Regions from separate parts of the Homo sapiens genome. Here region 1 is linked to region 2. The links are contacts of gene promoters, found by promoter capture Hi-C in blood cells and fetal thymus (Javierre and others, 2016). All regions are on one chromosome and are shown on one strand. Each heading gives the region's core, a stretch centred on a gene start or on the middle of the fragment in contact. The rest is flanking DNA. Distances are from core to core; before and after follow the strand shown. Region 1 has its middle 73 kb from the start of LINC02559. Region 2 holds the start of KIAA1671-AS1 (KIAA1671 antisense RNA 1).

Region 1 (4,320 bases), core at 664-3,163, 970 kb after region 2:
AAAGAAGAGCCTACTTCGCTTTTTTTTTTTTCTCAATTCCCTAAGCAGGCATCCTATTTCTCGAAAGAAAATGGATTCTAGTTACTTTTCAGTATAGCACCAATGGTCTTCTTGTTGAATTACAGCCACTGATGACTTCCTTTAAAGAGCGAGTACCCAGTTCAGGAAAATGTATTACTCAGGTAAAATGACTCCCTGGGGTGATGAGGGTGTGATTCAGGAGAGCCCTCCCACTTAGATGTCCTCAAATGAAATGCGGAGTGCATGTCTCTGTTTCAGCTTTGAACTGTGTCTTTCAGGCATCCTGGGTTTGAACTGGGTCGCCAACATCCTCCCTGGGAGCAGCTGCAGGGGTTTCTGAAAGGATGACCTCTTTTTAGCACAGAGATTATTCAAGGTGCTTAGAAACAGTGGGATGAGTTCAGAAATCAGTTCTTGCTACTTCTTTACCTAGGGAAACCAAGGCTGGGAGATGGAAAGCAATTGGTATGGGGTTGCTAAGCAGAACAACAACAGAGCCAACTGTCATCTGCCCACCTTTCCACAGCACCTGGAGACTGTCATGGCTATTTCTGTATATCCACTGGTAGACAAAGCAGTTAGATTGCAATAGATTTGGGATAATCACACAAAAAATGACAGAGCGCTCACTTAGTGGTTAAGCTCCTTCATGACACCCTTCATGGCTCACAACACAAAAATTAGAATACAGAAGATAAATATGTTAGCTAAGGTTTCTTGACCACTGACTAGATACCAAGAGCTCTCCTAAATGTTTTATATTCATGTCCTCATTTACTACTCCCAATGGCCCATTGAGGTGGCCAGCACCCTTTTACAGATGGGGAAACTGGGGATGGCAGAGGTTACAAGATTTGCCCAAGGTCACATTGCTGAGATGTGACAGAGTCAAGACATAACCCTGCTTTTCTAATGCAGAGCTTGTGCTCTACACTATTTGGTTATCCTGTCCCTTGTTCCACAAATATTTAGCGAGGACCAGTCTGTACAAGAAGCTGTTTTGGGTGCTAAAAAGTCAAGGATGAATGAGATACAGACCCCACCTTCAAGAAGCACATTGTCATTTGGGAAAGAAATACATATAAACAGATAATTGCTAAGTTATCTGTGATCAGAGCTAAACAAGGGAACTATACACTTTTGGGTTTACTTTTTCAAAGTGCTTATATCATTCAATCTATGATTACATGTGGACACACACATACGTACACACACACACACACACACACACACACTCCACCAAAGAAACCAAGGTAGGTATTATCTGCATTTGACAGATACAGATGCTGAAGCCCAGAAAAGATAGAGAACTGGCTCAGGTAACAGACAAAATTGGTATCATGCCCAAGTCTCCAGCTTCTAGCTTGGGTTCTTTCTCCACCAGACCACCAGGAGCATCCAAACAGCCTCCTGGTGGCCAGAACCAGTCCAAATGCTGAACATTAATAAGAGATGCTACAGAGAGAGACTGCTCCATTTATATTGTTCATCTGTGAATCCTCCTTAGTTTCACTGAGAAGGACATCAAAGAAGAGAATTCTGGATTCAGTAGAGGTTGAGTTAAGTCATTGGAAGACCTTGTTGGGGTCCTTTGATCTTAGTCTAAGACATTTAGAACAAGGGCTTGTTTGGGCTTATTTGAAGGGATTCACTCTTCTTGGTCTTCATGTTTTGGCCCTGAAATCCATCAGATGGAATTTTTGGATTTGTAATCTTAATGGTCTAACCCATGAGTTTGCCAACATGTTTTGTAATTTTCACCCTTTCCTTCATATCTTCCTCCCAGCCCCATCCTCCCTCAAGCATATGCCTGTTTCCTGAATAATGAAGGATACCTTATACTCTGCAGCTTTAATCTTACCGCTATTTCTTGAGAAAATGAGTTTTGGCCTTTATTAACTGCTCAGTAACTGGGCACATATTTCCCACTGTGATCAGAACAAAAAACTAGCCTTGAAGATAAACAAGAAGAGTGTAGACTGGGGGGATGTCTTGCGGAATTATAAAGTGAGTAAGGAGGCATTCAGACTCCCCCTGAAGATGCTATTTAATTTGTGGTAAGGCTGATAGTGGTTATGCTAGAATGAACATTAGGGGAATGTTGCTCTGTGACTTAAGTGCTTAACTCTTTAAGAATGCCCATCACTGTCCAAGGTACTGACCGAGATATTGCAGAGTTCAAATTGTTGATAATTTCCAAGGCCTTTCACATTCCAGGTAGGGCATAGAACAATGTCCTGGCCTGAGAGTGGGTGTAAGTGTTCATGGCTGAAAACGCAGAAGAAGATATGAATTGAGATTGCAAGCCTGTTATTGATTCCGGTGACATTGGGCAACTCTCTCAACCTCTCAAAACTCTGTTCTGTCTATGAAGGAAAATGTGCTACCCACTCCACAGGGATAGTCAAAAGATGCAATATCATTAAATATATTTCAAAGCCTGGTTTTGTGCCCTAAAAATGTGATGATGATGATGATGATGATGATGATTATGACGACGATGATGACAGCATAAAACTTTCAATAATATTGAGGGTTGTGTGCCTGCCAAAGTTCTAATGGCTTCACAAGTATGAATTCACTTAGTTGTCATAAAATTTCTTTATATTATTTGGAGATATTATTATGCTCATTTTATAGATAAGGTACCCACAACACAGAGAGATTAAATCATTTTCCCAGACTCACCCAGTTAATGGAGTACATCCCAAACACATTGTGTATAGTTATTATCGTGAAAAAAATAAAAGATCATAAACACATATTTTGAATTCCCGCCTGGAGCCTCAGCACTGCCCAGAATGGGATCCTAGACTTTCATTCTCTCCAAAGGGGAGCTCCATGACTATTTCCCAAGACTAATCTCCATGTCAGACATGAGATTGTTCTGAAACAGTTGCCCTATCCTGTCACCTTCACAACTTGAAACCCTCAATGACAATCATCCTCATAAGACCATGTTCAAACACCTTAGCCTGGCATCCAGGACTACTCAACATAGGACTTTTCTCTTTAGATGCTTCCTTCTCTCCTCAGTTGACATTCAAGGCACCCCAAATTTCTCCCCACTCTCTGAACATGCCATGACTTTCCTACTGCACGGTCTTGATGTTGTTTCCTCATCAGGAATGCCCTCCCTTGCCTAACAGTATAACTCCTATTCAGCCTCAGGAAGTCTTCTTTGATTTTTTGCTTCCTCCCTTGTGCTTCTAGATCCTAACACTTTAACTATTGTTAGGAATGTCTGTCCTTTTTCCCTCAGAATTTCCCACTCAGAGAAATTCTAAGGCCAGGCATACCTTATTTATCTCTCTATCCAGAAAACTTAACTCAGGGATTGTCATTTACATGTATGTATGTTTACAAACATATGTACATTTGTTTATATGAAAGGATGAATGTGGCTCTTCCCAGAAGGAAAAGAAGGGAGGTGTTAGAGACTTTTCTTTATGAAAAAGATTAAAAATAGCACCATAGTTTCAGATTTAAAAGGCTGTGCTTAGCAGTTGATATCTCAGCACAGAACAACAGAAAGCTCTAGAGCTTGAAAGCTGGTAGTTTCAAGTTGAACGTCTTTCTCTGCATATGCCAGCTGTGACCTGGGAAAGCCTCTTCCCATCTCTCAGCCTCAGTTTCCTGGTCCGTAAAACCAAGACGATCATATTCTACTTGGTGGGATCTCTGCAGAGAGCAAATGGGAAATTGGAATCAACTCATGTTTCTAACAATAGAAGAATAGATATAATGGAATATTATGCAGCTGTAAAAAATGAACAAACTACAGGCACACACATCAGAGGAGAATGGGTATAATGGAACATTATGCAGCTGTAAAAAGTGAATAAACTACAGCTACACACATTAATGGGGATGAATCTCAGAAACTTAATATTCATTCAAAGAGATAAATCCCATAAAAATCCAAAATATATAAGTCCATGTATATAAAGTTCAAGAACAATCAAAACTAATGCTATATTGAGAGACAGGAGAGCATAGCCATTATGGACTCTGGGGCCAAAAGTGGGTTCATGACTGAGTATTCCCTTTTTCTAGCTCAGTGACCCTAATGAGTTACCTAACCTCTCTGTACCTCAGTTTCTTCATTTAAAGAATGTCGAAGATAGCAGTGGTTCCTACCTCAAAGAGTTGTTGTGAGGATTAAATGAATTAATATATGTAAAATACTTAAAAGAGTACCTGGCACAGAACAAACACTATGTAAATGTTAGCCCTTATTATTATTTTTGACTAGTTGTTGTTATTACCTTTGTGATTACTATCATGATTTAGGAACAT
Region 2 (4,332 bases), core at 35-2,534:
GCGGCCGCCGCCACCGCCTCCGCCTCCCCGAGGCCCCTCCTGCATTCCTGGGCAGCGAAGCCCCTCGCTAAGACGGGGGCTGATGTCATCCCGGGCTGCTCAGCCAGGGGACCCGGGGGCCCTGGTGGCTGCCTCCGGAAGTGAGCTAGCCGCCTGCCGGCCGACAGGTTTGGAATCTCCAGCCAGAGGACAGAAAACCTGCATGGGTCAGGTGAGCGGGGTCTGGCCGAGGGCAGCCGGGCAGGGGGCAGCAGGGTGCGGCAGCTTGCCCACCGGAACCTCCCAGGGTGCACCTCAGGGGGGCTGCCTACCTGAAGGGAAGTGAGGACGAGGGTGCCCAAAGGCCGCCCCCTCCACCCCCACCCCCATCCCCATCCCCCGCCTTTCGGGACCGTCACGCCCTGGAGTGAGTGCAGCCGGCTTGTTCCTCAAAGCTCCTTGTCTCGGCCGATCAGCTGGGTGAGCCCTGGAACTGGAACCTGGACTGCCCAGTGTGTTGACTTTATAACTCCGCTGGGGTGGACTCCCAGCCTGGCACTTAGCTGCCTCTTAATTCTGAGCGGCACCCGTGGATGCAGCCGGCTCCTGGCTCAGGGATGTTTACTTACCCTTGGTTTGCCTGAAGAAAGCTGCTGTTTTTAATTTTTTTTCCTCCAAGCAAGCCCAAAACTTCCATGAGCAAAAGAGTCCAAAGAGGCAAGAGGACACTGGCGTTTTAATTGCTCTCTCCCTCCCTAACTTCCTTCTTCCCTCTCCTCCTGGCTGGCCCCATGGATTACCTGGGAGATAAACTCACAGTGGCCCAGACCCACATGACCCAGTGGATGGGCACCGTGAGGAGGTCCTTCCAGGAAGCCCTCAATTTGGTGACCACCACGGTGGGCCACGAACGGACGAGTGCAGAGTCGGCCAGCCGGACCCCCTTCAAGCGTACTTCCTCCTTCCGACACCTGGCTTCCCGGAGTCGGGAATCCTTCCGCCGCTTCTCTGCTCGCAGCCAACAGAGATTTTCTTCACTGAGGAAAAGGCATACAGATTCGGAACCGCCAGATATTGTAAGCTTATTATGTTTTAAAAAATATTAAAACAACACTGAAAGCTCCTCCCCTCCAGTCCTCCCAGGGAGGGGGTCCCAGACATCAAACCGGGGAAGTTACTTCTTCCAGAATAGTTGTCAGTCAAAGCCCAGGCACTTCCTGTCCCCTGTACCTGGGAAAGAGGCACGTAGCAATAATTCCTCTCTCCTGAAGTCAGTCAGGACATTTTTGCTGGAGTCGACGTCTGTGTGGACAGGGCCAGCACGTGAGTTGGGCTGAATTTGCCAGTTGATTTATGTTTAAGTGTGAACACCCCAACCCCCGACACGAAAGCTCATCCTTCTCCCTATTTTTAGGGTGGATTAGTGGCACCTGCCTCATCTCCTCTCACCCTCCTAGGAAGCACAAGTGGCGGTGTCATGTGCACGCTGAGTTGTAGCTTTTGTCGTTCCACCGAGCTTTCATTGGATTGCCAAGGAAAGGGTCTTAGGAGACCGAGGTGTGGTGGGCGAGTTTGCCCGCTGGCCGTGAACCTTGGGTTTGGTGTGAGTGGGCCAGGGAGGGAGGCCTTGATTTCTTACTCAGGCAGGCTCGGGAGGGCTTGGATTGGGACAGCAGGGTGGAATGACAGCTAATGATTAAAACCTTGGCCTGTGTCCTGCTAGGCGACAGTGCAGAAACAATCGTAAGGTCCTTCTGATGATTTGGAGAGGTGGGACTGGGCCCAGAAAGCGAAAGTGCCTACTGTGGGGGAAGCACAGTGAGTGAGTGGCAGAGCCAGGTCCCGAACCCCAGGCTCTGACCTCCCCATTCACGGCTCTTTGCAGTCCAGCTCCCAGCAGATGTTCTCCCCAGACCCTCCCAATTAATTCAGGGCTGCCCAGGTCACTGACCAGACCTGAGCCTAAAGAGAGGGCCTGCCATTTTCACATAGGAGACTTCTGCCACCTGACTGTGTTGGCCCAGTTTATGGGAGCACTTGAGGACAGGCGAAGGGCTAAGCCAGCCCCTTTTTCTGGGTTCCTCCTAGCCAGGAGTGCTATAGTCATTAAGGGACCCAGCATTTAGGGAGGAGCCCTGAGCTGGCCCTCCCTACACTCGAGGTGGCAGGGCTCACAGCTGCCCTGCCAGGTGCAGGGGCTCAGTATCCCCTCTGCTGACCCAGAGGTGTGACTCACCCCAGGTCACGCAGCAGCCAGAGCAGGCAGTTGCAAATGCAAGGCAGGAGCCGAGCACTTGGGCATGACACGTGTCTCGTTCACAGGACGTCTCCTTCACAGTGGGTCTGTGCTTCTTTGTGGCCCAGAACAAATTAGTGGGGCTTGGATTTATGAGACAGATTCCCCAACCTCTGGAAGGTGTGACTTGCCACAGGGAAAGAAGGCCCCTCATTCATTCTGTCTCCCTCTGTGTGTATCTCTGTCTCTGTGATGTGTCTTTCTGCCTTGCTCTGTCTCTGTTTGTTTCTCTGTCACTCCTGTTCTCTCTCAGGGTATGGGGTTGGTGACAGGCAGGCTCTGTTGGCATCCCTCTTTCCCCACCCTGGGGAGTGGTGTGACCATGGGCATTGGCATGAATCCCCTAGGCGTCTTACCCTGTGTTACAGGTTGGTGCCACTGGCAGGAGTGGCCTCTCCAGCTGGTTGAATAAATGAAGTTGGGTGGTGCAGAGAACCATTCCGTGTTGCGTCGAGATGCCACCAAGAGTGTAAATACATGCTAAATACATTCAAGCTTCAGGCTCCTTCCCATGTAGCCACCCTACTGGGTGGTAGGCACCAGCTGGCCTTGGCCTTGACAGCTTGAATCAGACTCCTGGCTGAGGAGCCCTGACCCATTCTTAAGCCTCAGTTTCTTCCTGTGTCCAATGAGGAGAACCAAGGCCTTGGTATGAGATTGAAGCAAGCCCCCAGCACAGTGCCAGGCACACAGAATCTGCACACTTGTGAATGCTCTCTCTCTGTTGCTTGCCTAGATACTCTGCCTGAGCAGGATAAAGGCAGAGTTAGGATAGGAACATGTGCAGTGTTGCAGATAAGTCAACGAAACGCAAGGCCAGGGACCCCCTGCCTAGGGGTTGAGTCCTGGCTCTGCCGCTTCCCAGCTGTGTGATCTTGGACAGACTCCTTCCCTCTCTGTGCCTTGATTTCCTCCTCTGTGAAATGGGGATGATCGTGCATTGATGTGCTGGTAAATGTGTGGTGAGCGTGGCCGTTCTTAGCTTGTGGTGCTTAAAAATTAGTTCTTGTGGCAACCAAACCTTTCCTCTCAAACCATCACTTCAAAGATTTTCAATGAGCTGGAAAACCCACACACGCCCTTTTTACTCAGGGACTTCACTTAAATATTCGTTTTATGGGAAGAAACTTTTTAAAGCCACAGACAATTACTTAAGAGTTTGGGACAACAGCAGTATCCGTGGCTGGGGCTGGGAGGGGGCAGGATTTTAGTCTTTCTGACCTTGTACATGATTTATCTAAATAATCCATTCATTTCATCCTGGTTCCTGCCTCCGGCTTGTATTTACTCAGAGCAGTGTAGAAGAATCTATTGCGGGCACAAAATAACCCTCAAAGGCGTGCCCTGAAATGTTTTCTAAAGCCAGCCTTGAAGTAATTTGCTAATGGCCTGCCTGCTTCTGTGTCCAAGGGATAAAAGGGGGAAAGAGGGAAAACAAATGCTTTGTCTCTGAGCCACAAAGGCAGGAAGAGGCACGTTTATGCTGCACTCCCATGTGAGCCTGAGAAACACGCCTGGTACTCCAGGTTTAGCCGAGGAGACAAGGTGGACTCCAGTTAGAGGCCAGACAGAAAATTCCAGAACCCAGGAACAATGGCAGTGGCACAGGGGCCAAGACTGGAATAAAAGCGGGAAGTGGGGGGTCTCTGAGGCCATGGGGTGCCGCACCAAGGAGGGCTTTGGAGTCAGACAGACTTAGGCCTGAGTCTCAACTCACCACGTGCAAACTGAGTGACCTTGGGCAGCTTAAATCACCTCTTGCAGCCTCAGTGCCCTCATCTGAAACATGGAGATTCAGCTGGGACTTGTCTGGTGGGTGGTTCAATGGGACAGAGTGGACTAAGAGCAAGCATAGCCCTGGCATGCAGGAGGTGCTGAATAAATGTTCGTTCCACGTTGCTTTTTGGGGGGCTCAGACTGTAATGTGAGTCCTACCTTCCTAGAAGGCTAGACTGGTGCCTCAGGGAAGCAGAGTAAGAGCCTGATCAACCTGTGTTTGTATTTACTGTGTGCAGGGCTCCATGCTAAGCATCAGGTGCATATAACTTGCATGTCTT

Evidence for each region. Contacts are between HindIII fragments. The CHiCAGO score rates a contact against its expected background, and 5 or more counts as called.
Region 1: a contact is called between a fragment that was not itself captured here and the fragment with the promoter of KIAA1671-AS1 in region 2, in 1 of 17 cell types (total B cells). The highest score is 5.0, in total B cells.

Annotation. Positions count from the first base shown.
Region 1 is chr22:26,077,032-26,081,351 of GRCh38, forward strand. No RefSeq gene overlaps it. Among named protein-coding and RNA genes, the nearest start is that of LINC02559, 73 kb to the right of the region's middle. The HindIII fragment of the contact is 4,962 bases long and covers 1-4,320 here.
Region 2 is chr22:25,111,408-25,115,739 of GRCh38, forward strand. It overlaps KIAA1671-AS1 (KIAA1671 antisense RNA 1), which reads right to left and starts at 1,285. Exons shown (of 5, transcript NR_038941.1): 1 at 1,210-1,285; 2 at 780-1,016. The region is part of intron 6 of KIAA1671; the gene reads left to right. RefSeq lists enhancers at 1-102, 103-964. The HindIII fragment of the contact is 1,710 bases long and covers 1,059-2,768 here.